Linked DNA regions of Homo sapiens: regions 2, 3, 4, 5, 6 and 7 are each linked to region 1. Evidence: promoter capture Hi-C in human tissues and cell types (Jung and others, 2019). All regions are on one chromosome and are shown on one strand. Each heading gives the region's core, a stretch centred on a gene start or on the middle of the fragment in contact. The rest is flanking DNA. Distances are from core to core; before and after follow the strand shown. Region 1 holds the start of LRFN5 (leucine rich repeat and fibronectin type III domain containing 5). Region 2 has its middle 190 kb from the start of LINC02315. Region 3 has its middle 420 kb from the start of LRFN5. Region 4 has its middle 360 kb from the start of LRFN5. Region 5 has its middle 330 kb from the start of LRFN5. Region 6 has its middle 290 kb from the start of LRFN5-DT. Region 7 has its middle 270 kb from the start of LRFN5-DT.

Region 1 (3,279 bases), core at 297-2,796:
CCGCATCGTAGGGAATCGGAAAGGCGGCTCCTGCCACTGCCGCCGCTGCCCGCAGGTCGCTCTGGGTGGGGGAATCGCTGCAATCGCCCCATGAAACCCGCGGCTCCGCGCCCGGGGAGCGGGCAGAGGCAGGGCGGCCGCGCACGCACACACAGACACACGCTCACACTCACACACACTCGCACCCGGGCGCGCGCGCACTTGCACTCACACTCGCACACGCACACCCAGCACTGCACGGGGAGGAAGCAGCACGGAGGGAACCGGTCCTTCTCACGATTGGCTTCGAAGCCCACCGGACCGCGGGCAGCAAAGAGAGCGTTCTCGCATAGCCCTTTAATCACGTTTCCTTCAAGTTCTCCTCCAACCCGAATCCACGTAATTCAAGAGCTGGTGACATTTTGGTGGGGAGGAGGGAGCCGAGAAAGGGCTGAGGAAGAGTCGGGGATTTTGTTAAGCAGTTTAATAAGCAATCCTCATTACCTTATTTGTTTTGTTTTGTTTTGTATAGCAAACCAGTTCGAAGGGCTGAACTTTTGGCTTCAAATGCTGTGAACCAAAACGTAAATATCCTTCTGGCCAAGAGAAGAAGGTGTAGATACACGGAAACAAGAGGGCTGCAAGACACTCTCTTGACCTTGTGATGTACCTGGAAGCAGGTTAATATTGGCGCTTTCCAAGCTTCTGGGTAAAGCGATCCACACACCTGGGTCCACAGCCCAGCAGCCGCTCCAAATCCAGCCAGGAAAATGGGTCTGGGCGTCCTCAGAGCTCTGCAAGAACCCGGGCATGAAGGGGCATCGCCGAGTTAACACATTTGCTTCTGGGCAGTTGGATAAAAGACAGTCAAATGCATCAGATAGGCGCGCGCGTACACACGCGCGCGCACACACACACGCAGCTAGCTGGAAAGCGGCTTACAAAACACTAGAGACATGCCAAGATGACTTGAAAAGGTAGCCAACATCCAGGATCTTTCCGGAACACAGAAGGGCCAGCAGGGAGGTTATCAAAGTCTTCTCAAGTCTTTCAATTCTTCCTCTCTCCTCTGAGTGTGTGTGTGTCTGTCTAGGTTTCGTTGGTCTGCCCCACCCCCGTCCAGTTGCGCTTTTTTTTTCTGATATAACGGACCGTGCAAAATGGATTATATGGGTGGGCTGTGTTCACAGCCAGAGCTCCCCAAAGTCAAGGATCCTAAGGGAGCAGCCAGCTGCTAAACAATTCACATCCTCAAGGGAAGAAGGAAAAACACGCTCAAACACACGCAAACACGCGCACACACATACATAGTCCTCCGTTCGGGCAGCTCTGCACACGCTCACCGCCTCCCTGCGCGCCGCGGAACACAGCGCCCCGCCCGCTGGCCACCGCGCTGGGGCGAGTCCGCAGTTCAGGCGCGAGGCAAGCAGCCGAGGTCCGGGGCTGCGGCCGCGGCCGGGGCGGACCCGGGAGCTGGGCTTCCCAAAGCGTCGCGTGTGGGCAACGGCGGCCTCCTGGCCGCGTGGAACTGAGCCCTGCGCTGCAGCATGAAGGCGGCGGCGGCGGCGGCGGCGGGCGCGCGGCCGTGAGCTCAGCCCGCGCTGCAGTGACGGGAGCGGCCGTGTCGGCCAGACCCCGAGAGTCCGTGAGACCCCGGCCGGGGCCGCTCCGCTGCTGTCAGCCCTCGGGCCTCCCAGCCAGACTGGTTCTGAACCGATTTATCAGGGGGTTGCGGAGAGGGCCGGCGAAGCGCCAGGAAATCCCCAGGCTGAGGAGGCGCGGGGGCGTTGCAGGAAGGGGGAAGGGAAAAGGCAGAAAACCTGGAGAATGAAAGCGAACTTCCAGGGGCGTCCCCAGCCTCCTGCAAAAGGGCAATTTGCTGATCGCCCACTTCCTCGCAGTTACGGGATAGAGAGAATCATCACTGAGTCAAGCTTCGGCTGCTTAGGGCGGTGGGAAAAGTCATTATCTATAATAACCCGCCGGAAATTTTGAGGAGAGCTACTGACTTGGGGGTTTCAGTCATCTGAGGCTGGCTTCCGCTGTCCCCTTAGTTGTGGGTGGTGATTTGCTTACTAATCAGATGGGAGCGGATTCTGAAAAGAACATTTATATTTGGGAATCAACTCAGCTCAGCATCAGACATTACGAATACTGCAGTTGGTCACATTTTACTATGTGAAGGGCAGAAAGGGAGCCCAACAGTCTTCATAAGCCAGACCTAGTCTCTAAGGTCACCGGCACAGACGCAGGGTCTAAAGCAGGAAAGAGGTGCGACTGGAAAGGAGGTTAGACAGGGCCCTGCGGGAATGGATCTGCCCGGAGCCCTCGCCTGGTTTTGCTTGAGACTCCGACAAGACTCCCAATGCTTCTCTCCCCGACCCTATCCCCACTCCCTCCATCCTGGAAAAGCCAGTGAGCAAAGTTAACTCTTTCTTCTAAGAAACCCTGAGTGAAATCTTGCTCTTCCTTTCTGCTAGAGTCCTGAAACCCTTTCGCTTCTCATTGTGGGTTCACCAGCACGTGGTCTTCGGACACTGAGAGCACCTTCGCTCTCAGCTGTGATCCTAGCTAGCCCAGACACCAGTCTGTACCCAAAGGAAGAGTAGGAAGTTGCAAAGGGAAGCTGGCTAACAAGGGCTTCTTCTGCCCTACTTGGCAAAGGCCCATACGGGTGGCCTCCGTGGATATGGAGCTCCTTCATTTTGTTCCAAAAAGAGCTCTGCCAGGCTTTACCATTGCCCTGGAGGTGCACAGGCGCCCGTATACTCGAGCACAACCATGGGCTCACCCCAAGCGCGCACACCTGCACCCACGCGTAAGGAAGAACCACACAGCTATCTCTGTCGGGGAAGAACACGAGGAGTGAAGTGCTTTAGGTGGAAACTCCTCACATCTCCTTTCTTTCCTCTGCTCCCCCTCTCTGCCCCTGGTACTCCGGATCCAATCCTTGGCTTAGGAATCCACTCAAGCCACGTCTGGCTGCTTTGTTCCAGAGGAGCGCAGCTCCGAGACTGCACTTCAGCGGTGCAGCCTCCCTCCAGGTCGGCGAGCGGCGCCAGATCCGGGACTTCAGGGTCTCCGCGGGAGCTTAGGAGGCTCAGGATCTGAGTTGGAGAGCTGGAAGGCCAAACTCCGAGCCGCTGAGGGACTGCGCAGGAAGACCACAGAAATAAACCAAAGGGACACCGCGGACAGATGTACCAGAGGACACCACTGAAGTCCAGGAGAATCTCCACCAAAACCATCAGCGTTTTCCTTGTAGCTTTCTGTCCCTCGAAGTGGAAAGTTGAGGTTTCT
Region 2 (3,279 bases), core at 391-2,890, 460 kb after region 1:
AAGACTGTCAATCATTCTGAAATTTTATGTCTGTTGATCTTTTCTTCTTCTCCTGTAACCTAGAAATCAAGAACATTACTTAAACTTATAGTTGAATCTATTTTCTTTTCTTTTCCTGAGTTAATACTTTTGGCAAGTGAATAATAACAAACAAGTAAACTTTTTTATTTATTTATTTATTTATTTATTTATTTATTTATTTATTTGAGACAGTCTAGCTCTGTCACCCAGGCTGGAGTGCAGTGGCACAATCTGGGCTCACTGCAACCTCTGCCTCCTAGGCTCAACGAATTCTTTAGCTTCAGCCTCCCAAGTAACTCGGACTACAGGCATGAGCCACCAACGCCTGGCTAATTTTTAAATTTTTTTGTAGAGATGGGGTTCCACCATGTTGCCCAGGCTGGTCTCAAACTCCTGAGTTCAAAGTGATCTGCCTGCTTTGTCCTCCCAAAATGCTGGGATTACAGGTATGAGCCACTACATCCATCCAGACCAAACAAACATTTTAAAGAATAAAAAAACCATTAAATTTATTTTTTATTTTCTTTTGGAATTATTTACTGTATATTCAGACTAAATTTTTGATATTAAACACTTAGTAACAAAACATTTTAATATGACCAGTTAATCTTCAAAGTTTTCCAGAAGAAGAAAGAAATGAGAAAAGATAAGCATAAAGGAGAAGTAGGGGAAGCCTGCTACAAGCAAGTAAGAAATTACAAAAAACTAATAATTATATTCCTTCTGCAAGGAGAGAAGATGCTATAAATGCAGGAAAACACATTTTGAAATCAAATAACACACAAAAAATAAGAATTAGTAAGCCATTTAAAAACAACCTGGGTCCTTGAGAATTCCTTTAAGCCATACAAAAACAAAACTAGTAACAAATAATCAGGGAGGTGCAGAACCAAATGGAAGTCTACGTAAATTGAAGTAAGTGATCTTTCATCTGGACAAATAAGTCAAAGAGGTCCCTCTTCAATGTTGCTCCCATCGTTGTACAAATAGGCCTCTCGGTGAACAATTGTTTTCATGTCAAAATTTCACCAAAGTGGCCAATGTGATTTCAAATTGTCCTTGATGAAATTATTCCAATTAGAGATATTTGTACATATAATAACAAGGGAACAGATTATTGGTTCAGAAAGAAACAGATCCAGAAGATTCCATAAGAAAAGAAAATGCTACTGAGTATGCTTGCCTAAATTTGTGCTTCTGGAACCTAGTCAAATATTGTCATCATCAACAAAAGACCCAATAAAACCCACAGATCTTCCAGGTGAAATTTCATAATGCAAGTCTCAGGAACACAACAACAAAATTGTTGGAAGTCTCACTAAGTTCTTATAGATTACCCTGAATATTTCAGCCTTGGGTACCATATCAAGAGAAAGAAAGATTAAATCTAGAACTGTTCTCTTCCTATGAGTTTCTAATTATAGACTCACAGTCAAGAACTATTAAGGAGACAAAAAGTAGTATTGTTAAAATCCAGGCAGGTTCTCACTAAGGACAACAGTTTTCAAATATAATTATCTCTTCTAAGAGACAAAATAAACTCAACATTTGGAAACTCACTGAAAATAAGTCAGAATTTAGACCTACTATGTGGCTTTCTCACATTATTCTGGAAAGACTTGCAAGCTGGAAGCTTAATGGTACTCCGGTTAGCACAGTGTTTCTGAGTTAAGGGTTTTTGGCTGTGTAATGAGAATTTCTCAATTAAACCTCTGTTCAACATTCAGAAATGATAACTATTGACCCCTCCACGAAGACTATAAAAATAACCTGTTGATCAAACAAAACTAAATTTGCTAAACTTGACCCACCAAGGGATAATTTCACAAAACAGAGGCTTATTAGTGTCTAACAAGGGTAAATTTAGGGTAGATATGTATAAGTTTAGGGTCTGAAAACAAGTTGTTTACAGAGGGTCTTTGAAGTGAGAATATTGATTGCAGTTGGGTAAGGTTTATGACATGGTGTTTAAGACTGGTGAACTCAGTGAAATGAGGATAATAAAACTAGAATCCTGATAAACTATCTGTCCAGATATGAAGACAATTTTCCTAATATGTCCTCTACCTGTTCAGATAAGCAAGGAATTTGCCCATACAAATCAGTTTATAAGTATTTTCTGAAACAAAAGATGAGTTATTTATTGGATTTTCAGACATCCTGGTCAAGAACTTCCTGAACAATTAGAATGATGGTATGCGTGGTCATAAACGGATATAAATTATTGTGCATTTATAAATGTGACAGTTTTACAGATGTGTCTAAATTATTTCAAATTCTTTTAATTTAAAGATGGAGTCTTTCTCCCCTCTCCTCAATATAGGTTGGCCCTAGTGTATTGGTACTAATGAACAAAATGTGGCCTAAGTCACTAGTTTATTAGGCTATATGATAATCCAGTGGGACTTTAGGTAAGCTTTGTCTTTCTTTAGGTGCCTTTCAACCCATTCACCATGTTGTAAAGAAAGCCCAGGCCACATGGAGAGGTCACATTCTCATCTTATTGAGTCACTGTCATTCTTTGAGTTCTCTAGTTGAGGTCCCAGACATTGGGAAACAGGCACAAACTATCCCTGGCATGCTTCATCCGAATTCCCAAACCACGTATTTCATGTGGGTTGTTAAACAGTGGTCTTCTCCTTATCCCCAGTTTTGCTTTCCATGTTATTATTTACCCCTGATTAACCATTATCTGAAAGTATTAAATTAAAAATTCCAGAAATAAACAATTGATGAGTTTTAAATTTTGCACCATTCTGAGTAGCATAAGGAAATTTCACACTATCCTGCCCTGTTCCAGCTGGGGCATGAATCATCATCTTTTTCCAGCCTATCCATGCTGTATACACAGCCCATTAGTTACTTATTTGCTTTGATTATCACGTTGAAAAAACAACGGAATATATAAAGTTTAGTACTAACTGCAGATTCAGCCAGCTACTGGGATTTCCCCGTGGATAAGGGGGTACTACTATACATCATTAGATTTTGTGGAAAATGTGTTATACAACAGTTCGTAAATGAAACAGATATACAATGCATATCCTTTGATAAAAAGACTTTTATTAAGATATTTTATTAACCTAAGTATAATCTTCTTAATAGACGCTGAAACACATTTAGTAAAATGCATCAATCATTTTTTAAAAATAAAAACAAACGTATTAAAAGTGAAGACCAAAATATCTGAACAAGTGATGGCCATGGTGGAGAGGCAACTGAAAAGATGCTGGATGCAGAAGGAGAGGCATGGCCAGG
Region 3 (3,279 bases), core at 323-2,822, 420 kb before region 1:
ACTTTGGTACACTCTGCTTTGACAGTATCTCAAATTATGAGCTCTGTTCCCCTCACTCCAGCATTATATTCCCCAGCTGCCTTGGGAGTGGTTCAGATGGAGCCCAATGTGCCATGGACTGCACCCAGAACAGCAGGAGGCTGTGGCTATCTTCATCTCCATTTCAAAGGATAGGGCCTCCTGGAAGAGCCACAGGCTTAGCATCCCATCCCTGGAGAGCAGCTGGGCCCAAAAAGGGATTCATCATAGGTGCAGGATCTAGGCCCAGGGCCTTGGAGGCCTGTATTAGTCTATTCTCACATTGTTATAAAGAAATAACTGAGACTGGGCAATTTATAAAGAAAAGAGGTTTAATTGGCTCATGGTTCTGCAGGCTATACAGGAAGCATGCTGCTGGCATCTACTGGGCTTCTGTGGAGGCCTCAGGAAAATTACAATCATGGTGGAAGGTGAAGCAGGAGCAGGCAAATCACGTGGCCAGAGCAGGAATAAGAAATGAGGTGCTACACACTTTTAAATGATCAGATCTTGTGAGAACTCACGCACTATCGTGAGGACAGTATGTGGAATGGTGGTAAACCTTTCATGAGAAATCTACACTCATGATCCAATCACCTCTTACCTGGCCCCACCTCCAACAATGGAGATGACAGTTCAACACGCAATTTGGGCCAGGACACACATCAGAACTATGTCAGAGTCCAAGCCCTAGCCAGCAAAGCTGAGGGAGCAGGGTTGCTGCTTCAGCAAGTTCAGAAGTTGAAACTTTTGCCCCAGTCATCCTGGAAGGCAGACCACTGAGTCAAAGAGGATTATTCTTAAAATGCTATAAACTGAAGATTTTTGTCCCCCAGATTTATATGTTGAAACCCAATCCCCAATATAATAATATTTAAAGATGAGGCCTTTGGGAGTTGATTAAGTCATGAGAGTGGAAGCCTCACAAATGGATTTAGTGCTCCTATTAAAAAATGACTCAAGGGAATTTCCTTGCATTCCACCAAGTGAGGTTTCATCAAGAAAACTGCTGTCTATGAACTGGGAAACAGGACTCCATCAGATAGTTTATCTTCTGGCACCTTGGTCTTGGACCCCCTAACCTCCACAAATGTGATAAATAAACTTCTGTTGTTTATAAGCCATCTAGTTTATGGTATTCTCTAACAGCAGCCAAAATGAACGGACACTGACCAAAGGGAAGGACTCTCTCCTAAAAAGTAGAAAAATAGGCCAGGTACCGTGGCTCAGGCCTATAATCCCAGCACTTTGGGAGGCCAACGTGGGTGGATCATGAGGTCAGGAGTTTGAGACCAGCCTGGCCAACATGGTGAAACCCCATCTCTATTGAAGATACAAAAAATTAGCGTGCCTGTAATCCCAGCTACTCAGGAGGCTGAGGCAGGAGAATCGTTTGAACCCGGGAGTCAGAGGTTGAAGTGAGCTGAGATTGTGCCATTGCACTCCAGCCTGGGCAACAGGCGAGACTCCATCTCAAAAAAAAAAAAAAAAAGAAAAAGAAAAAAGAAGAAGAAAAGAAACATCATAAAGAATAGAGCAGTATGCTGTTCAACTTAACTTTCTATGGTGAGGAAAATGTTTAATCTGTATGCTACCCAACACAGTAGCCAGTAATTACATGTAGCTGCTGTACACCTAAAAAGAGGTTAGTGAGAATAAGAAACTAAATTTTACAGTTTTATTTAATTATAATCAACTTATATTTAAATAGATAACACGAGTCTTAGAGATCTTACACAGTAGTGCCGTTCTACAGTCATTAAATGCATAAAATTAGGACAGTGGTTTTCTAAATGTGGTCTGGAAACCCTTGAGGTTCTCTGAGAAAATTTAAAGGTGCCAAAGGTTAAAACAATGTTTATACTAGTACTAAGAGATTATTTGCTTTTTTACTTGCATGTTTGCACAGTGATATTTTTTCAGAGGTTACATGATATATAGTATGCAACAGGATGAATGCACCAATAGATCTGATATTCCCATATGTTTTCTCAAGCCAAACATTAGAAAGACTTTTTTAAATGCAAAATAATATCAGTTTCTATTTCTTTTTATAATATAGGTATATTTTTAAAACTATGTTAACATTCATTGATGTCACTTAAATTTTTTAAATATCCACTTTAATATCTTTTATTTATTTATTTATTTATTTTATTTATTTATTTTTTTGAGACAGAGTCTCGCTCTGTCACCCAGGCTGGAGTGCAATGGTGTGATCTTGGCTCACTGCAACTTCCGCCTCTCGGGTTCAAGTGATTCTCCTGCCTCAGCCTCCGGAGTAGCTGGGATTACAGGTGCGTGCCACCATGCCCGGCTAATTTTTGTATTTTTAGTAGGGACGGGGTTTCAGCATGTTGGCCAGGCTGGTCTTGAACTCCTGATCTCAGGTGATCCACCCGCCTCAGCCTCCCAAAGTGCTGGGATTACAGGCGTGAGCCACCACCCCCGGCCCATTTTAATTTCTAATATTGCAAATATCACTAGATGTAACTCACATCAACAAAAGCTCTCTGGCATCCTCAGTAACTTTCAAGATTGTAATGGCACCATGAAGCCCAACTTTTGAAAATCACTAGACTGGAAGGCCCAATAATTCTACTGCTAATTTTATTATAAAAGAATTCCTTGCATGGTTAACAAAGGTTTGCTATTTTTTTTTTGAGTTGAATGATTCCATGAGTATGATTCCATGAGTATTCCATGAGTATGATTCCATGAGTATTCCATGATTCCATGAGTATGATCCCATGAGTATTCCATGAGTATGAAGGGAATGATCCAAAACATGTAAAAATGTTTCTATAGCAATTAAATAATAATTGGCATGTTATCCTAGGTCATATTCCATTTGTTAAAAGAGCACTTGTCCTTTAATAGCCATGCTACTCTGGAGGATTTCAGGCACACAGGAAATGTAATAATTTTTTTAGCACCAGCAAGTTACTCAGCATCAGGATATCTTGTTTTAATAAACAAAGTTAATGTATGTCTACTTCAGAGGTTCACAGGAAGATGTGCCTCATCAGGAGATAGAACATCTTGGTATACAATATTGTGCACTGAATAGTTCCTGTACAATTAACATGATTTTCTGACCCTCTGCTACCATCATTGGCTAGAAAAACCATACTCTATTTATTAATGGCCTCCATTTCCTCCCCAAGGTTCCAAAGTTATTTTGCATGAAATGTTATTTTGCAGAATGTTGTCTCTGAATCAGCACCAATTGCCTTTGCTGCACATTTATGAAGCTCCAAA
Region 4 (3,279 bases), core at 550-3,049, 360 kb before region 1:
CAACATCCACCTTCTGGGTTCAAGATGTCTCCCACCTCAGCGTCCCAGGTAGCTGGGACTACAGGCATGTGCCACCAAGCCCACCTAATTTTTGTATTTTTGGTAGAGACACGGTTTTGCCATATTGCCCAGACTGGTCTTTAACTCCTGAGTTCAAGTGATCCACCCGCCTCACTCCACCAAATTGCTGGGATTACAGGTGTGAGCCACTGCACCCAGGCTAGATAATTCTTAAATGCATATTTCTTAGTGAATTTACTCAATGTGTAAAGACAACATACTGCACCATTCCATTCAGCTAGTATCCTGGAAAATGCAAAACTATAGAAATTATAGATAAGTGGTTGCCAGGAATTTGGGGAAGGGTATGTTTTGAGTAAGGGAAGTACAGTGAATGTTTCAGAACAGTAAAACTATTCTATATGACACTGTAATCATGGATAGTGGCACTATGCTTTTGTTAAAAGCCATAGAATATTATAGCACCAAAAATAAAAACATAATGTATAAAAACATTTTTAAATAATGTAGGAGAGCAGGGAATTCCAGGATATAATATAGAATGCTACAAAAGCATCTAACCTTGTAAGTGTGTAAAATAACCTCACTGAAAGATGTGGGGTAAATATACTGACCCAAGTAAATTTTAAAATTAAAGGCATTAAGGAACTGTGCATAAGCACTATATTCTAATTGGGAAGGCAATAGAGAAAGTTAAATGAGTAGTATATAAAATCTTTATATAACCTCTTTGCAACTTTTTTGTAAATTTAAAAATGCTCTAAAATAAAATATTTATTAAAAATGAAGAAAACATTATGCCAAGTGAATGAAGCTTATAATTAAAGGTTTCATGCTGAAGTGCAGGTGTATCCAAAAGGATCTTTGCATTGAAACAGGATTCACCATCTAATCTGTCAAAGAAACTCTAGTGCTAGACATTTAAAAAATAACATCCTGAAGAATGAAGAGAGCGCTTCCAAAATGGCCGAATAGGATCAGCTACAGTCTGCGGCTCCCAGTAAGACGGATGCAGAAGACGAGTGATTCCTGCATTTCCAACTGAAATACCTGGTTCATCTCATTGGGACTGGTTGGATAGTAGGTGCAGACTACGGAGGGTGAGCTGAAGCAGGGCAGGGTGTTGCCTCACCCAGGAAGCTCAAGGGGTTGAAGGATTTCCCTTTCCTAGCCAAGGGAAGCCATGACAGACTGTACCTGGAGAAACTGTACACTCTTGACCAAATACTGTGCAACCTGCAGACAAGGAGATACCCTCCTGTGCCTGGCTCAGTGGGTCCCAAGCTCACAGAGCCTTGCTCACTGCTAGCGCAACAGTCTGAAATTGACCTGTGATGTTGCAGATTGGCAGGGACAGGGGTGTCCGCCATTGCTGAGGTTTGAGTAGCTCACAGTGTAAACAAAGAGGCCCAGAAGCACAAACTGGGCGGAGCCCACCACAGCTCAACAAGGCCTATTGCTTCTATAGATTCCACCGCTGAGGGCAGGGCATAGTAGAACAAAAGGCAGCAGACAGCTTCTGCAGACTTAAATGTCCCTGTCTGACAGCCCTGAAGAGAGCAGTGGTTCTCTCAGCAAGGCGACTGAGCTCTGAGAACAGATAGACTGCCTCCTCAAGTGGGTCCTTGACCCCTGTGTAGCCTGACTGGGAAACACCTCCCAGTAGGGGCCAACAGACACCTCAAACAGGTGGGTGCCCCTCTGGGACAACGCTTCCAGAGGAAGGATCAGGTGGCAATATTTACTGTTCTGCAGCCTCCGCTGGTGATACCCAGGCAAACAGGGTCTAGAGTGGACCTCCAGCAGACTCCAACAGACCTGCAGCTGAGGGATCTGACTGTTAGAAGAAAAACTAACAAACAGAAAGAAATAGCATCAACATCAACAAAAAGGACATCCACATCAAAACTCTATCTGTAGGTCACCAACATCAAAGACTGAAGGTAGATAAAACCACAAAGATGGGGACAAACCAGAGCAGAAAAGCTGAAAATTCCAAAAAACAGAGTGCCTCTTTTCCAAAGGATCACAGCTCCTCACCAGCAAGGGAACAAAACTGGACAGAGAATAAGTTTGATGAGCTGACGGAAGTAGGCTTCAGAAGGTCTGTAATAACAAACTTCTCTGAGCTAAAAGAGCATGTTCTAACTCACTGCAAGGAAGGTAAAAACCTTGAAAAAAGGTTAGACGAATGGCTAACTAGAATAAACAGTGTAGAGAAGACCTTAAATGACGTGATGGAGCTGAAAACCATGGCATGAGAGCTTCGTGAACATGCACAAGCTTCAATAGCTGATTCAATCAAGTGGAAGAAAGAATATCAGTGATTGAAGATCAATTTAATGAAATAAAGTTAGAAGACAAGATTAGAAAACAAAGAGCAAAAAGAAATGAACAAAACCTCCAAGAAATATGGGACTATGTGAAAAACAGAAATATACGTTTGATTGGTGTACCAGAAAGAGACGGGGAGAATGGAACCAAGTTAGAAAACACTGTTCAGGATATTATCCAGTAGAACTTCCCTAACTTAGCAAGGCAGGCCAACATTCAAATTCAGGAAATACAGAGAACACCACAAGATACTCCTTGAGAAGAACAACCCCAAGACACATAACTGTCAGATTCACCAAGGTTGAAATAAAGGAAAAAATGTTAAGGGCAGCCAGAGAGAAAGGTCAGGTTACCCACAAAGGTAAGCCTATCAGACTAACAGCAGATCACTTGGCAGAAACCCTATAAGCTAGAAGAGAGTGGGGCCAATAATCAAAATTCTTAATGAAAAGAATTTTCAACCCAGAATTCCATATCCAGCCAAATTAAGCTTCATAAGTGAAGGAGAAATAAAATCCTTTACAGACAAGCAAATGCTGAGAGATTTTGTCAACACCAGGCCTGCCTTACAAGAGCTCTTTTAAAGGAAGCACGAAACATGGAAAGGAACAACTGGTACCAGCCACTGCAAAAACATGCCAAATGGTAAAGGCCGTCAACGCTATGAAGAAACTGCATCAATTAATAGGCAAAATAACCAGTTAACATCATTATGACAGGATCAAATTCAAGCATAACGATATTAAACATAAATGTAAATGGGCTAAATGCCCTAATTAAAAGACACAGACCGGCAAATTGGATAAAGAGTCAAGACCCATGTCTGTATTCAGGAGAGCTTCCTCACATGTGAAGACACACATAGGCTTAAAATAAAGGGATGGAGGAAGATCTACCAAGCAAATGGAAAGCAAAAAAAAAGCA
Region 5 (3,279 bases), core at 332-2,831, 330 kb before region 1:
ACCTCTATTCACAGTTTATCTAGATTTATTTTTACTTTTCAAATACCTCAAATTAAATAAATCAATTTTCTTTATATAATCAGAGTTGCATGTATCATCTAATTGTAGATAATCTTTTTTTTTTTTTTTTTTCAAGACTGGGTCTTACTCTGTCCCCAGGCTGGAGTGTAGTGGCATGATATCGGCTCACTGCAACCTCCGTCTCCCAGGTTCAAGCGATTTTCCTGCCTTAGCCTCCCGAGTAGTTGAGACTACAGGCAGGCACCACCATGCCCAGCTAATTTTCTTTTGTATTTTTAGTAGAGAAGGGGTTTTACCATGTTGGCCAGGATGGTCTCGATCTCTTGACCTCTTGATCTGCCCACTTCAGTCTCCCAAAGTGTTGGGATTACAGGCATGAGCCACCACGCCCGGTCTGGGATATTATTCTTAAATTTCAGTTTTTATAGTTATTCTATAGGTATAATTTCTAAATCTTTATATAATTATTTAAATATAGTTTATTTCTAAAAATTAATATCTAGAGTGGTCTCTCCTGCTGAGAATCATAACTCCAGAAGAATTGCTTAAAAAATATGTTAGCTTCTCCATTGTTTAGAACTATTGTCATTTTTGAGGGAAAAAAAAGGAAGTGCTTCACTCTTGAATGCAAAGTATTATGTATACTTATACAATTAAAAGAATCCACATAACATACAATTAAAAGAATAATGATTCAGTTTCAGCTAATTATTTTGCTGTTTGTTTACTCTTCATGTTACTATAATCTAATGTTTAAAATATCTCTCCTTCTTCTTAACTCTACTTTTATTCCTCTTTAGCTATGTGTCTCTATTCTCATCACCTCTGATAGCTTAATAAATATTTTGTCATATATAATAGAGAAACATTTATTTTTTTAATTAAAAAATATATTTTAATGGTAAAAATATGCTGCAAAATTTTGTCTTAGTCTTTAGGCTTTTATTATGCAAAGTGACTTCAAAAACCTGACGGAAAACACATATAAGAAACTCTGCATGGCTTTCCATCTTTCTGCATTAAACTCACCCTAGCTTGTTACAACATACCTGAACAGGAAGTAGCTTGAAGCCTTAAGAAGGATACGACATCAGTTTGCAAAGAGCTCCTATTGGAGCAACGTGAATTCTGGTAAAATCGAAGCAAGAACAAACATCAAACTTATGGTGAAGCTTGGGTGGAAGAATGGTGAAATCATGATGCATTACAAAATGTTTGTGAGGACAATGCCCCAAAGAAATCAGCAGTTTACAGATGAGTAACTTGTCTTAAGAAGGGATGAGATGATGTTGAAGATTAAATCCACAGAGACAGACCATCCACATCAATTTGCAAGGAATAAATTCATCTTGTTTGTGCCCTAATTGAAGATGACTGATGATTAACAGCAGAAATTATAGCCAACCCCTTGACATCTCAACTGGTTTAGCTTACACAGTTTTGACTGAAAAATTAAAGCTGAGCAAACTTTGCACTCAACAAATGCTAAAACTGTTGTGCCCAGATCAGCCGCAAACAAGAGCAGAGCTTTCAATGCAAATTTTAAACAAGTGGGATTAAGTTCCTGAAGACATTTTTGAAAAATTGTAACAGGATATGAGACATGGCTTTAACGGTAATATTCTGAGGACAAAGCAAAATCAAGGTAATGGCTATGTGGAGGTGGAAGTAGTCAAGTCGAAGCAAAAGTGAACCAGCCAAGAGCAAAGATGATGGCAATCGTTTTCTGAGATGTCAAGTCATTTTGTTTGTTGACTTTCTGGAGGGCCAAAGAAAATAATATCTCCTTGTTACAAGAGCATTTTAAGAGAGTTACCCAAAAGCGTTAGCAGAAAAATGCCCAAGAGAACTTCACTAGGGAGTCCTTCTCCACCATGACAATGTGCCCGTTCATTACTCTCGTCAAACAAGGGCCATTTTGCAAGATTTTCAATGGGAAAAAATCCACCTTATCTAAGGTATCCACCTTAGAGTCCTGATTTGGCTCCTTCTGACTTCTTTTTGCTTCCTAATCTTAAAGAAAACAAACAAACAAAAATACTTTAAAAGGCACCAATTTTTCTTCAGTTAATAATGTAAAAATACTGCATTGACATGGTTAAATTCCCAGAACCATCAGTTCTTTAGGAATGAACTAAATGGCTGATAGCATCACTTACAAAATATCATGACCTTGATCAAGCTTACGTTGAGGAATAAAGTTTATATTTTTCATTTTTACCTTGTAATTCCTTTTTCCACAAGCTTTTCAAAGTCTCCTCGTATTGACTTAGAGTAATATCTTAATGAATGGGTTCCTAAAAGTACTTTTATATTTCAGAGTGGATCAATTCAATTAATTTACAATAACTACTTGAAGGTCTCTTATGTGTAATAAGCAATTTTAGGAAGATAAAAATTATTTCGTGGAGTTCTTATGTGAGTTGTGTATTTGTGTGAAATCAGAGGAAAGACAGAGAGAGCCTCGGAAATGGATAGCACTTTTAAAGAGGCATAGTTGCCTTAACTTTACTGTTTTTATATTGTATGTCACTGTTCTTCTGCTTATATGCAAATAACCATTTTCCTTAGTGCGGTTATGCAAACATTTGACTTAGAAAGGGAATAGATTAGGGGGAATTAGAAGAAAACAATGCATATTAAGTAAATTTGTGTGTTATGCTATGTATGAAATGAAGCCTATAATATACTTTTACTTGAATTCTATGATCTAATGAGGCAAATACTACTCACAATTGAAAGGCTGGCTTCCAGAAACTTTCTTTTCAGCAGTCGCAAACCCCTTTGTTAATCTCTCTGATTTGAATGTCAGACACCCATTCCTCAAACTTTAAATAAAATGACATTTCTAGGTTTTTTTGAATATCTTTAGAAAATATAAAAATACTTTCTAAACATAAAAGATTCAGATGGAAGGTATATTTCACGATTGTGCTGAGATTGATCTAAAACTAAACACAGCTTATTTTTCTGTGTGCTTCATGAAATTTATTTGTTATCGAATAGCTATATTTAAGTCTTAATATTTATTAATTTTATTGCTGTCACAACTAAGAAATCATACCTTTTCTAGCATTTGTTTCCAGGATCTTCTCTTAATTAAAAAATAATAATTACTGCCTCCTTTTTGTACATCTTGTGACACAAATTCTTCAATCTTGGTATTGCTTACCAAGTTGAAAGGGAGAGTGATTTTCCCAGTTTCCATGGCGCAGTCTTGCATCTTTTCTTCAGCAGTCTAAAGCACAAATCACTGCT
Region 6 (3,279 bases), core at 507-3,006, 300 kb after region 1:
AGAGGTGGTGAGAAATATGAGGGATTTTATAATTGATCACTTCACTTATAAAATAATATAGAACATTTAATGGGGAGAAAAAATTGGGTTATGGTAGGTGGTGAAATGAATTGAAGGAAAAAAAGAAAAAAAACCAGGAGAAATAGTACAAACTACTGTTTCCAGAAACTTGTGTTTGTAGCTTTTATCTCTCCTTTACCCTCTTACTTATGCAGGGTATAAAAACATTTTAACCTTTTTGTTTGTTTTTCTTTGTTTTATTTTTATTTTTGTTTTGTCAATATTTCTCTTTTGCTCTGTTCCTTATTAACATGCTCAATGCAATCTGGGGCTTCAAACAGTCGATGGCCTCCCTGCAAGTTGAGGCAATCTCAATAAATATTGAGGTATTGCAACATTAACTCAATTATTCGACTGAATGGAGAAGAAGCACTAATGCAGTTCAGAAAAAATAATTTGTTTGCTTTTGGGATGTGATAATGATATTGCACAATAAAACGGTTAATTTTCAGAGACAGATTTGCCTAGATGAGTATTAAAATTAATTGTTGTCACTAGAGCACAGGTTCAATAATGAAATGGGAGAATAAAAATAAATTGTATTTTGCTTATAATTATTGAGAAATAAAACAAAATATTTTCACCTAAAATGCATATCCAGGAAATATTAAAAACAAGATAAATTACCTTTACATATTAGAAAATACAGTTTTCAAAATATAAGAACAAAGACTTGTTAATATAAGACAGAGCAAAAGGTGAATCTGATTTTGAGGAGTTTAAAAAAATTATCTTTCTCATAATAGGCAAAATTACTGCCATTACTTGCTTTTGTTGTTAATGTGTATGGAAACGTAAGAATCACATTTATTTCAACTGTGTGTCAGGATTCAGAAGACTGAAACATAATCAAATGCATTTATTTATTTTCCCTTACTGTTGTCTGAATTCTTGCTTTATAGTTTTATGATGATTAAAATTATGATTAAGAAGAGGGAGACATCATTAACTGGTCCAGTGGCTCTGCAGGTTTTTTTTAATACCCTGCAGTGAATCTTTGCACCTAGATTTGTAAAGGACTGATTTCCACAAGAGTGGAATATGTTGTCTAAGTTTTTATTCTAGCATCTGGATGAAGCTTCAAGGCATTTAATGTGATCTCAAAGCCATTCATCCATTGCAACCCCCTGTTGTGACGAACAATGAGAATAGAGAGCTGTTTCTTAAGCTTGAGGCACATATATAAGCCACTTCTCCTAAATTTTTTATTTGTGTACAACTTGAATCATTCATTTAAAATATTTTGTAAGTTTAAATTAATCACCTTTATAAGATACGAATGGAATATGCTTTAAAAAAACTGTATTCCGCAAGCTTTGTGTGCACATACAATGAAACAACAACACATTTTTGTATCTGTATAGACACTATGGAAAAACACACTTCTGAAATCTGCTTCAATGTGCAATGAGAATAGATTGATTATTTGTGGTTGAGATTATTTTTCATGGTGTCAGGGACTATCAGTACTTAGCTTCTTTGTCCTGATACCATATGGATCAGTGTCATGAGAAAACAAACAAGTAACTGAAACAAACTTGCTGAAGATTACAAGTGAAATGCTTTACAATTAAATATGGAAGAAATACTATCTTTTAGTATTCTTGAGTATTCTTTTACCGTATTTTGACATATATGCATATAGTCTGTGCTTTATGATGAAGTATTTTGCAAGTGAATGGTAAATATGTAGGTCCTATGAAGGAAGAGGTAGAAAATTATTTCAGAGAAATAAAGAAAGAAGATCATGAAAGCTTGCAATTATGTGCTGCAAAGTTTGATCGTTTGTTTTGGTAAATGGAGATTTACTAAGTTTAGAAACAGAAGAGGCACTTATATGGTTAAATTTACATTTCTGACAGACCTTTCACTTGCTTATGTTGAGGATAGATATATATGTAGTGAGCCTAAAGGTAAAGAAACTAAAATATGAATGTAACAATACAGGTGAAACATTGGGGATTATGGGCAATAGAAGCTCTAATCAGAGGAAGGTTAAATAAATATAATTAAATGGATTTATTAACCATTAATTGAATGGGAGAGGTCCGTGGAATAACTCCTGTGATTTTGGTCTAAGTATTAGAAGAATGCTGTTACTACTCACAAAGGAAATTGCCTTTGGAATATCATATAGAGATATTTAGTAGCAGTTTATATGTGTCTAAAACATAAAAGACAAAGTAAAAACTAGCTCTAGAACCATTCACCTATGGGTAGTAATATACATTGTGTGTTGTCTAAAGGGCATACAGAGTAAGAAAAAAACTAAATATGAGCTCCATTGATAAATGAATCACAAATAAGAAATACAACTGAATTTATAAAATTATAAAATTATTTCTCCCTCGAAGTTTATATATTAATTTCTATTTACTTTTTATTGTCTTACTGAGTGATTTCCAAGACACTGGTCCTCTGATAAGGGGCACATTGTTTGGTCTTTGTTTCCTTTCATCCTGTAAGTAGGTTTTCCTGGGAGCCTACTCAAAATTTTGATAAGAAAGGATACTTTTCTGAATGTACTAATTATTTTTTCTGAAAGTTTATTTCTCCTATTTATACTATGAGATGAGTGCTAAATGGAGTCTTTTTCAGTGCCGAGGTTAGCAAAAAGTGATAAACAATATCATATATGCTAAATTATATTGCTGTAAAAACTAATCTTCAAATCTCAGTGACTTAAAGAAAAATGTTAATTTCCTCTTTAGGTTAAATGCCAATGCTCTGCCCCACATCACCATTACAGCAGAAGCTTCTGATGGCTCTCACACAACATTTACGCTCACTTATATTGCTTAAAGCAAGTCTCATAGTTAAACTTGATGGCAGTTGGTCAGATATACAGAATCCTTCCACAGGGAGAGGGGCAGCAAACATTTTAAACAATACAATCTGCCACACATACTCTGCTTATTTACATAATCGCATTATTAAAGATACCTCAACAACATTCCCTTTTCTACCTGCTTTGTTCCTCCCTGAAGGGAGGTGAGGGGATTTCTATTTCTCTCCTCTCTATCTAAAACTCTATAATGGCCTAATATAGTGGTATTTTTTTTTTCCTTTAATATACAAGTAAAGTTTAGAGGACTTGCCTGGTTGATGCAGTTAACACAGAATCACATCACAAGTCATTAATCTGGATTTTGGCAGTGCTTCATTTTGTTTAAGTCTACTTCCAAGAAGGGATATAATTCTCTAAGCTGGGCTCTTCCT
Region 7 (3,279 bases), core at 486-2,985, 290 kb after region 1:
TTCTTTATTGTACATTGACATTGGATCTTGTAGTCTTTTACTTTCAATTATTGCATTTTTATATTTTAGTGTTCTATTCATTTTTCTAATCTTGATGCCAATATTTATGGCCTCCTCTTTTTGCATGTTTTTATTTCATTTTTTTATTTATACACCGTTATTACATATTCTGTATTTAAATATTCCAACATGTCTAATATCTAGGCATGGTACTAGATCTGCTTTTTTATGTTTATGCTCATTAATTAGAGTTTGTTCATTGTATGTTTTTGGTAAGTTTTTATTTTGTTGATGTAATCTCTGGTGTATAGAGGTCCTAAATTGTGGATGATATATTCAAGAGAGAATGCTGCTTACTTCTGTTGGAAAAAAGTAGATATTCCTATCCTAGAAACAGTTATCGCTCATGGAGGACTCCTAGGTTAATGTTTGAAAGTGGGGGGATGTATTCTCCTTATTTTAGTGAGTCATTGTCAATCTCATTTTTAGCCTTATTAATCCTTACACTTTAATGGATTTATTTCCCATTTCTCTCTTGCCATACTTATTAGTGATCCTAATAATTAATGAAAAGTATTCTTTACGGTAAAAATAAAATACAGTTATATTTAGCATGATAATCCATGTGCATACTAGCCAGAAGCAGAAATTGAAATTCTTAATCTTTCAAACAATTTATCTGTCTTTACATAATCTATAATTACTAAATACTGAATAAGGAAGAGTAGCTTAGTCAGTGGCCTTTTCCCTGTCAATATGGAATAATACTTTATTAATTCTTTTTGGTCTATTATTTAGTTAAAGAAAAATATAATGTTAAAAATGTATGGCATAAGGAGTTAATGAAGTGTTCATATATTATTCCTACTTTTAATATCTGACTCAAAAATTGAACAAAAAATTGAAGAAAAATATTAAAATTAATACTGATCTTATTAGGCTTATTGATGGCATGTTTGGTTACTTTTAGTTTATTTGAATATAAGTCAGAATCTTAATAGCATAAAACTTTGGTTTAAAGTTTCTGAGAGAAGATCAATCAGTAGAGCATTTTAAAACCCCTATCTGTAGCATGTATCAAATACATATTAAAATTTAACAAAAAAAGAAGCATTGTTTTCCAACTTGTGTTTTTGGGGGTTATGATAATTCTTTTACTAATATGTTAAGTGATACTGAATGAATTAGCTGTTGAAACATTAATCTCCAGGACAGAAAACACTTGAAATAAAATTTCTGTATTTTAAAATGCCTTTTAGAATAGGAAGAATGGAAAACTGTTCATGTTGTTAGACCATCTAATTTAATCTGAGTTGTGATTGTTTGGGGCAGCTAATGTAATTAAAGTTGATGATGTCTAAAATTCTGTTGACTTAGCATACACAGTTACTTTCAGTCAGAAATTTTTCTTTTGTAATATCTTATGGGTACCACTTATGTATTGTTTACATTTTGGACAACTCCAATAGTATCAGTTACTTATAGTAATGTTAGTAAATAACTTTGTCAAGAAGAGTTGTATGTTGTTTAGGAGGAGAAAATGGAGAAACAGCAATTGGAAATAATGATGAGGCTTTTAAAATTAAACTTTTAACAAAAATGGGAAAGGCACAAAAATGGACAACAGGCCCAGGAATTATGTTATGCTGATGCCTGCGTGAATGGAGCTCTCATGGGGACCATGACAAAGTCAGCCACGTCATGAACAGCTATATGAACAGTATAATTAAAATGCCAAGGGATTCCAGTGGAGGTGGAAATGGACTTTCCTTGTTGATTTGGAAGAGGTTACAGTTCAGCTGAGGCTTTAAAGGAGTAAGATTTTTCTGAGTGGAAGGAAGGGTAAACAATTCCAGCAGAGGGAAACACAGCCAAGGCATAGGCTTATGCCTCAAATGCAATATGCATGTATGTGTGGAGTATGGGGAAATGCAACTAGAGACAGTAAGTAAACAGATAAATGGTAGATTGAGGCTAACCAGGAGACAATTGAAGAAGTTCAAAATTTATTCTCAAGATTTTAATTTTAGATGTTATTCAGTTTGATGGCCACCACTAACCTTTCGCTTCTCATATTAAAACCTCCCTGGGAAGAGGGAGAGACTGCAATGGATGACACAAAGAAAGTAAACGTTGGATTGAGGTAGACACATAGTGAACATGGTGGAAATATTTAGTCTGTGCTGAGCTAAATATTTCTGAGAAGTATAGAACTGAGACATCTAGAGGCTGAATTGGCTGGTGATAAAATAGCAGCAAATTACAAAATGTAACTGAAGAAAGATAACTCTGATGCATAGGGAATGTCTTTGATGAACTTTTGGCATTGGAGTTCCTAGAGATAACTTGATTTTTATACTTCCCAAGATACCAATGTTAGCTCTTTTTTGGAATGTTGTGAGAATTCCCTACTTTAATATGCTTTAAACATTTTTAAAAAATGTTTAGGTGTTTAAAAAACATTTTAATCCGGTTAGATTTGGTTTTTATTCTTTGCAACTAAAATATTTCTGACTAGAATTATTAATAAAAATTATTGAAAAACAAACAAGCAAATAATATGATTCTTTTTGAGTTTTGAAAAGATACTCTTGAATTTACATGTTCACATTAAATTAAGTTTTAAGTACTATGCAATATACTTCCAACTCTTATGTACCTAACTTACAAGTGCCAATAAAAGTTATCCTCCTTTTTTGCTGTCAATTCTGCCAGAGACATCAAAGGTTACTTATATATTCATGCATTTGAGAATCAACTATCAAAGCTTATTTTTTAATGCCAGCCTCTGTTCTTCATGTTGAATAAAAAAAGATATCAAGAAAGTAGGAAGTATAAAAAACAGACAAAAATCTCTGCTCTCAGAGAGCTCCCAGTTGAAAGACAAAGTGTTTGAGAAAAATTAAATTTAATTAACGATGTATTTTTCAAAAAAATTTTTTTCAACTGTAAAATTTAAATATAGGATTTATTATTCTTCATTAGAACTGGCATAACATGGTTTTGGTGGTCTTCAAGTTTGGCTTTTTTATCATTAGGTAAATTACTATGTTTTTCTTTCTTTCACTTACTTCATCTAAAAATAAATAATTAGACAAAATAACTTCAAATAATCTGCAACATTTTGTGGTAAATTATTCTTGAGATGATTTAAAGAAAATATAGTTATGACTTGACATCATTGTGCAAATAAATATTGAAATTATTTTTGAAATTTCAATTTTATTTGGTCAAATAACCTTGACATTACAAAACTTGTCAGTCAGGGAATACAATATT

What was found. The method cuts DNA at HindIII sites, captures the fragments that hold promoters and counts their contacts. A contact is called where the count stands out against the background at its distance.
Region 2: a contact is called between a fragment that was not itself captured here and the fragment with the promoter of LRFN5 in region 1, in 2 of the 25 tissues and cell types used here (H1 embryonic stem cells and mesendoderm cells).
Region 3: a fragment that was not itself captured here is called in contact with the fragment with the promoter of LRFN5 in region 1 in 1 of the 25 tissues and cell types used here (H1 embryonic stem cells).
Region 4: a contact is called between a fragment that was not itself captured here and the fragment with the promoter of LRFN5 in region 1, in 1 of the 25 tissues and cell types used here (adrenal gland).
Region 5: a fragment that was not itself captured here is called in contact with the fragment with the promoter of LRFN5 in region 1 in 2 of the 25 tissues and cell types used here (H1 embryonic stem cells and dorsolateral prefrontal cortex).
Region 6: a contact is called between a fragment that was not itself captured here and the fragment with the promoter of LRFN5 in region 1, in 7 of the 25 tissues and cell types used here (H1 embryonic stem cells, dorsolateral prefrontal cortex, heart left ventricle and 4 more).
Region 7: a contact is called between a fragment that was not itself captured here and the fragment with the promoter of LRFN5 in region 1, in 6 of the 25 tissues and cell types used here (H1 embryonic stem cells, adrenal gland, dorsolateral prefrontal cortex and 3 more).

The regions. Positions count from the first base shown.
Region 1 is chr14:41,605,143-41,608,421 of GRCh38, reverse strand. It overlaps LRFN5 (leucine rich repeat and fibronectin type III domain containing 5), which reads right to left and starts at 1,546. Exons shown (of 6, transcript NM_152447.5): 1 at 1-1,546. The HindIII fragment of the contact is 3,229 bases long and covers 165-3,279 here.
Region 2 is chr14:41,145,855-41,149,133 of GRCh38, reverse strand. No RefSeq gene overlaps it. Among named protein-coding and RNA genes, the nearest start is that of LINC02315, 190 kb to the right of the region's middle. The HindIII fragment of the contact is 5,817 bases long and covers 1-3,279 here.
Region 3 is chr14:42,022,272-42,025,550 of GRCh38, reverse strand. No RefSeq gene overlaps it. Among named protein-coding and RNA genes, the nearest start is that of LRFN5, 420 kb to the right of the region's middle. The HindIII fragment of the contact is 6,760 bases long and covers 1-3,279 here.
Region 4 is chr14:41,966,640-41,969,918 of GRCh38, reverse strand. No RefSeq gene overlaps it. Among named protein-coding and RNA genes, the nearest start is that of LRFN5, 360 kb to the right of the region's middle. The HindIII fragment of the contact is 3,977 bases long and covers 1-3,279 here.
Region 5 is chr14:41,939,780-41,943,058 of GRCh38, reverse strand. No RefSeq gene overlaps it. Among named protein-coding and RNA genes, the nearest start is that of LRFN5, 330 kb to the right of the region's middle. The HindIII fragment of the contact is 4,826 bases long and covers 1-3,279 here.
Region 6 is chr14:41,300,886-41,304,164 of GRCh38, reverse strand. No RefSeq gene overlaps it. Among named protein-coding and RNA genes, the nearest start is that of LRFN5-DT, 290 kb to the left of the region's middle. The HindIII fragment of the contact is 3,928 bases long and covers 1-3,279 here.
Region 7 is chr14:41,317,293-41,320,571 of GRCh38, reverse strand. No RefSeq gene overlaps it. Among named protein-coding and RNA genes, the nearest start is that of LRFN5-DT, 270 kb to the left of the region's middle. The HindIII fragment of the contact is 6,864 bases long and covers 1-3,279 here.